Linked DNA regions of Homo sapiens: region 1 is linked to region 2. Evidence: promoter capture Hi-C in 16 types of primary human blood cells and fetal thymus (Javierre and others, 2016). All regions are on one chromosome and are shown on one strand. Each heading gives the region's core, a stretch centred on a gene start or on the middle of the fragment in contact. The rest is flanking DNA. Distances are from core to core; before and after follow the strand shown.

Region 1 (3,552 bases), core at 648-3,147, 510 kb after region 2:
GAGAGGAAGAAAAAGGGGAAGGGGAAGGAGTGGGAGTGAAGTAAGAGATATAGGAAGCCTTCAGATTTGCTCTTGAGGAAGTCACAGGGAATTAACAAGGAAGATTTCTTAGGGGAATCTCCTTGAGCTGCAAAGGGCAGTTGAAGAGAAAGGTAGTTAATAAAGGGAGTGACACAGTGAGTATATTCTCTTGAAAGTCAGAGAACTCTGGGAAAGAGTTGGATGGGGAGTGGGGAAGAGACTAGGATTCATGTTCAAGAACAAATGTAGTTGGAAACACAAGGTCATCCTGGAGAGGCTATATAGTGCAGCTGTTAATATTGTGGCCTCAGGACCAGCCTGCTCTACTCCATAGCTAGGTGTTCTTAGCCAAGTTACTTATCTTTTCTGTGTTCCAGTTACATAGTCTAGAAAATGACAGATGATGATGGTGACAGTACTTCTCTCACAGGTTGTTGTATTAAATGAATCAATATAAAGCTCTTAGGGCAGTGTCAGGTACTAAGCACTACGACTCTTGGTTATTATTCTCTTAGAAATTTTATTTTTAATTTGTGAAAGAATAAATCATCTTTCTCAAATACAAGTAAATGCACTTATGAGCCTAAGGCCAACACTTTCAAATCCTCTATTTTGGGGGATGGGATGCTAAGGGAAGAGGTAAAAGAGAGAGCTAAGAAATGCAGAATGTGAGTAGGAAGGTAACTCATTTTATTTTGTTAAAACTTTACCCTTTGACTCAGAATAACATGTATCTTTCAAGTTTTGGTAGCTGATTTTCTAGTATGTTACACATTGATTTAAAAAAATAATTTCCATGCCAAATACAATAAAAACTTTTTTGAAATGAAGGCATTTTATATAAAACTATTATGCTAATAAGTTAATCAATGTAGCCGGGCACGGTTGTTCACACCTGTAATCCCAGCACTTTGGGAAGCCTAGGCGGGTAGATCACCTGAGGTCAGGAGTTCGAGATCAGCCTGGCCAACATGGTGAAACCCTGTCTCTACTAAAAATACAAAAATTAGCTGGGTGTGGTGGCACGTGACTGTAGTCTCAGCTACTCGGGAGACTGAGGCACAAGAATTGCTTGAACCCAGGAGGCAGAGATTGCAGTGAGACTCTGTCTCAAAAAAATAATAATAATAAGTTAATTAATGTATAGACAGTTTTTTCATTCTAGATATAGAATGTCGCTTATTCTAAAAGAATTGAGATATATATGTGTGTGTGTGTGTGTTTTGGTAAAGAAAAATGCACATGTATTTTTTTATTATGTTCTACTGTAAGACAGCAAAAAAATAAATGGATGACTCATGGAACTTTTTAAGAAGTCTCCTATTCCAGTAGCACAGTGCCCAGGAGAGGTGGTGAGCTGTTGACACGGGCTGTTCATTGGACTCTGTGTGACCACTGATGAGGCTCACGCTCAGCATTTCTCTTCTTGCCTTGAAGCTTCCCTGCTAAGGGAAGACTTCTTGTGGGTTCAGAATGACTGCCAGTGCTTCTTGGATAGCACTTCTGTAGACCCCCACAATATACTTCAGCAGCTCCTCCTCTGATGAAGAGTGGATTCTTGTATCTCTGTAGCTGAAGGAGTATTCTGCAGAATTCATTCCCTCATTCATAGGTATTCAAGTGTTTGCATTTGTCACACATCATTGTAACCAGAAACTAGCCCTTTGTGAGGAACATTGGCCAGAACCCCTCTAGCAATTTGATTCTACCATCTGATTCTGATTCTGATCCATGTCCTGTTCTCATCTTAACCACTCTTGGACCAGCTTCCTGGGGAACTAGGAGTGGAAGCAAAAAATTCCATGTGAGAAAGGAAAATGAGGTCTGGGCAAGAAAGAGAAGGTGAGCTTTGTAATTTGTAAGTTGCTTTTCAAAATAGACCTGACCTTTTGCTTAAAAAGGCCACAGGAAGGAAATGGAATGGCTCAAATTATCCACAGATTGCGCTATTTATCCTATTGTTTCCTCCAAATGGAAAGTAGCATTTGTTTGTTGAATACAGCGTTCCAAGCACTTGCTGGTTACTGGAGCTGTTAATACTGGGTGTCTCCATGGGTCTTGTTGGGTGAGAGAGTTTATATGCATCAAGAGTCATAGTACATTTGTCTGTGTGCGTCAACATATACAAATTCATTTAAAACCACCTTACATTTGTTGAACATTTGACTTTTCAGATTTCTTTCACTTCAGCCATTTTATCTGGTCATCCAGCAACTTGGAAGGTGGTCAGGGCAGATATGAAAACAGAGCCATAGAGAGATTAGCCATGTTATTTTCATCTCACTTGGTCACAAGGCTAGTTAATGAAAGCTTAGATTAGAACCAGGTTTCTTAGCTTTCAAACCAAGGCTCTGTCTACTTGATTGCCTAGAAAAAGAATTTCAGTAACTAAAGAGTTAGAGTGGAATTTTAATGACCTCAGAACTATCAGAGCTATAACACTAATTCTCACTTACAATATATATTTAGCAGCAATTAACTATAATTTTTTGGGTGGGAATAAGAAACAAGAAAAAAGATAAAGGCATTTTATACAATATTATATAAAAACATAACAAGATCTTGAAAATGCAATATTATATAAAAAAGTAAGAAAGAGCTAGAAAAACGAACACTTTTTCTGCCATAGTATTTTAGAAATAGCACATGGTTTCTACCACATAATAAATACAAGAATCAAACAAGCAAATGCAGAGATGACCTCTGGGCTTAAATTGTGTAACATGCACAGAGCTGAGCAATTTCTGGTCAAGGCAACTAATTTTAACAAAAATGAGGTGATACATGTTTTGGTGTAAATTTAGGCTCTAGAGTATAGAGTTCTACCCCTTCATCTGTTTTTTTTCCCTTAGTCTGGCTAATCTGAGCCAGTTATACAAAAATTATTTTACTAGAAAATGATCAACATGCTGATGGGGCGGGTTCAGGCTCAGAATGATTTTCTGGTTCACTTACAACATTTAACCAGGTTGAAGTTTTGTTTTGTTTTGTTTTTAAGCCAATCTAAAAGTACACACAAAACCTGTTTCTTCCTGGTTTCCAGTTTTCAGTAAATGCCAATTTTTAATGTTCCAAAAATATACCTTAAAAATGTGATTTAAAAAAAAATCATCCCTTTCTGGCTCTTGAAACATTTCTATAACTTTATTGAATATTGACACGGAAGAGGCTCCACACACAAAAACTCTTTATAAGTTCTCATATATTTTGATGATCATGTTCGTGGTAGATATGAATATTGTGTTAAATGTAAGAAAAGTGGCTTTTGTTCTGGAATATTACTTTGGTCAGTTAGGAATCAGATCTGCCACACATAAAGGGCAGGTTCATAAAGGCTGTACAATTCCACTGTCCTACATCAGGCAAGGAGGGTAAAATAACTCTTCAGGCCTTTATTCACCCAAATTGAATGTGTTTCATAAGAAATTCTACTCAGAGAGAAAGTCTGCATACTGAGAAAATTATATAGCAATCATGTTTTCCTAACCCAAAAATAAAACAACAAGATGGAAAAGTTCACAGCACTTTATG
Region 2 (3,264 bases), core at 66-2,565:
TGAAAAAAGGAACTGTTAAAAAAAAAAAAGCCAGTGTGTTTAGGTTTTGACAGCAGTGCATGCAAGCTTCTCTCTTAATTCAGCTCCTCTTAATTCACTCTGCACCTGCATCTGATTTGCAAAAGATGAAGCGTAAAATTTCAAAATAGCAAGTGTTTGTTACAGTGTTAACATGTGGCTCAGTGCTCTATGCAATAGACCATGTTGCCTTGCAAATTTTCCTTAGCCAAGTGTAATTGTTACTGTAGCAAATCTACTTTAATGCTACTTGAAATGAACAGTTCGTAGTTATTAGACTGGAACCTCAAGTAGCTGCAACCGCTAGAAACTCCTCCGGTGGTTCCCCCCTCCCTGGTCTCTCCAGAGGGAAGAAGGTCACCTTCTACACTTAACTACCATGCTCATTCATCTGGACGAAATGCCCAGTCCACTGTCTTCTTCACGCGTTATTCTCCAGGACAGGGCTCCTCCGCCGCGCACGTTATTTCCTGTAGAGCGGGCACGAAATTAAGCACCTTGAAGACCAGCGGTAGACACAGATTATCTCCGGTTCCAAGCACGTCTCCCGCTAGGAACTTTTTTCACTTGTCACTCTTCTGCTGCTTTTTGAGGAAAACAGGTGATATTTGGTTTCCTGCCAGAGTCTTCGTCACTCTCGTAACTATGATGTCTGGGTAAAAATAGCTCACATTTTTGCTTAAAAAATAACGGCCGCGCAAATTTATGGTTAGATTTGTCTCAAGTCTGAAGACCGCGCATCCTAACTAGTGAGGCGGAAGACACCTAAGGAGCCAGGAGCTGTCGCCGAGGCGAGGCTGCGGAGACGTTCCCTTGGTGGGCCGCGGGACCACCCACCCCGCCAGAAACTCGGTTCGCTCACCCTAAGAATTTTGGGGCAACTGGACTTCTCCACCGCCCGCTTCCGGACCCGCTCCGGCGCCGCTTCCGGACCCACTCCTCGGCGAGCGCAGGAACTCGCTCTCCCAGCAGGCCCCGCGCGGTGCGCCTCTCGGCGCGTTCCGGGTCCTATGACAGCTCGGCTCGCATGCGCCACCTACGGCCCCACCCGCGGCCCCACCCCCTGGCTCCCGGCTCCTTCCCCGACTCCCGCGAGTTCCAGTCCCAGCTTCCAGCTCCCCAGCCCCGCCCTCAGCCGCGCGCGCTCTCCCCTCCCCGCCCTCGCTTCTTCGCGTGCGGCCCCCACAGCCAATGAGGTTCAGGGCCGCGTGCGCAGATTCAAACGGCGGCTCTTGAGGGAGGCTGGGCGCGAGATTCGGCGGTGCGGACAAAACCCTGCAGGAGACTGCGAGCCCTGCAGAACTGCTAGCTGCGGGGGAGAGGGCAGGGGTCGGGCGCCTGTGGCGGAGCCGGGCTGGGGCCAGGGCAGGGAGGCTGACAAGCGGCGGGAGAAGCCGGCGGAGGGCGGGATCGCGCCTCCTGACATGTTGGGGGTATCCCTGGCCGGGCCGGGCCGGGGCTAAGAGCGGCGCTGCGGGCCGGGGTCGGGGTCGGGTCGCGGTCCGCCCCCGCTGTCCCTCCGTCCTGCCCTGTCGAGGACGTGCGTTCCGCACTCGGCCGCCTCCAGAGGGAGCGAGGGAAGCGGCTAGAGGATCGGGGAGAAGGAGCATTCGCCGGAGGCTGGAGGAGGCTGACCCGCGTCCCCGCCCAGCCTGCTCCTATGCGGTACTTGAAGGATGGCGAAGAGGTCGCGCAGGTGGGTGGCACCCCTTTCGCCCAGGCCTGTCGGCGCCGTCTCGGCTCAGATTCTCTTTCCTATCCCGCTGCCCCCTCCCGCCATAAGGCCCTCCCTGGCGAGGGCAGAGGTTTTTCTTCCCGCGTCCCCGCGGCCGCTTGGCCTCGATGACCGGAGGGCAGCTGCGACGTGTGGAGAGTTGGGGACCAGGGTGTTTGAGGCGCGGGACGTAAGAGATGCCCAGGTTTCTCGGTGACTCTCCCCGTAATGCGCGTCCAGATTTCTGACCTCATGCTGCCACTTCTTCGAGGCAGGTTTCTTGCCAGGTAAGTCGAGCGCTTTTAGGGAGTCCGCTACGCAGAGAAAACTGACTGTGTCCTGCCGGGAGGACTTGAAAATGGTGTTCGGGCGACTCTTTTCTGAATGACGGTACAGTCAAAATAGGAACTCCGCGGTGAACCTGGGCGGCCACCCCTCTGCCAACTTGGCTATCTTGAAACGTTGTGGAAAATCCTCTGGGGAATAGCTGAGAGGACTTTTTTGATGTTTTCTGTAATTCCTATACCCATATGCTCAGCTTTATGTATATATGTATATTTTAATATCCTCTCTTGGGACCATGTCACATAGTAACAACTAGTAGTAACAACTAGTAGCTTGATCTTGAAATAAAACAATGTGTTTGATTCACTTAATATTTTGAGTGTCTGTGTTTGGCTCTGACCGTACCTAAGTGTTCCACAGAGGTAAGGCACTTTTTTCCACCTTTGCCTGGAAAATGTGCTAGGATGAATTTATGCATCTAATTTTCGTTTACATGCCATTACAGCAGCTACTCATAAATTATGTGGAGTAATTGCTTAGATAACAAAAATATAGGATGTCTTCCGATTTTCAGCATTATCAAATAAACCTGAAAAGATGTTTGGCAGGATTTCCAAATATTTATTTATCTAGATCCACAGCCCCAAAATCTTAACTAGAGATGTATTTCCTAAGTTGAAATTTAGTAATGGGGGTCATTCATTGCAGAGTTCTGCTAAAAATTGGCAGTAACTATACATAATTGTTTTTTCCTTAGTTTTCTGTTAAGCATCTGCTGTGTGCAGGATGCTTCTGCAGAAATCCTTAAGTCTCTGTAAGCTTATTAGTTTTGAAGTAAGTTATAGGACAAACTCTTGAGATGAAATAAATGTGTACACAGACCCCTCTAAAACTGTTTTCAGCCTTTGCACTATTGACATCTTGGACCAGATAATTCTTTGTAATGGGGAGATGTTTAGCAGCATCGCTGGCTTCTACCCAGTAGAGATAGTAACACTCCACTTCCCTCAGTCATGACAGTAAAAATGTCTCCAGACATTGCCAAATATCTTTTGGGGGACAAAATCACCCAGGAAAGAACCACCCTTCTAGAACTTCAAGGACCCAATTAACATCAATCTTCAGAAAAGATAGATATTTAAAGCTCTTGTAATTATGATTGCCGAAGTACTGGTTTAGGCTTTTTGAATTTTTAAATATAAAAAAATTTAAAAATAAGATGACAATTGAATATGTTAACTCAATAA

What was found. The method cuts DNA at HindIII sites, captures the fragments that hold promoters and counts their contacts. A CHiCAGO score of 5 or more calls a contact.
Region 1: a fragment that was not itself captured here is called in contact with the fragment with the promoter of MYBL1 in region 2 in 2 of 17 cell types (M0 macrophages and monocytes); the score reaches 6.1 in M0 macrophages.

The regions. Positions count from the first base shown.
Region 1 is chr8:66,100,111-66,103,662 of GRCh38, reverse strand. DNAJC5B (DnaJ heat shock protein family (Hsp40) member C5 beta) reads right to left here. Exons shown (of 6, transcript NM_033105.6): 6 at 2,418-3,552. Among named protein-coding and RNA genes, the nearest start is that of TRY-GTA5-1, 11 kb to the left of the region's middle. The HindIII fragment of the contact is 873 bases long and covers 1,461-2,333 here.
Region 2 is chr8:66,611,269-66,614,532 of GRCh38, reverse strand. It overlaps MYBL1 (MYB proto-oncogene like 1), which reads left to right and starts at 1,315. Exons shown (of 16, transcript NM_001080416.4): 1 at 1,315-1,714. The coding sequence starts at 1,695. It overlaps LOC105375884 (a long non-coding RNA gene), which reads right to left and starts at 984. Exons shown (of 2, transcript XR_929015.3): 1 at 881-984; 2 at 1-488. RefSeq lists enhancers at 469-518, 529-608, 659-798 and a silencer at 1,029-1,548. The HindIII fragment of the contact is 2,770 bases long and covers 69-2,838 here.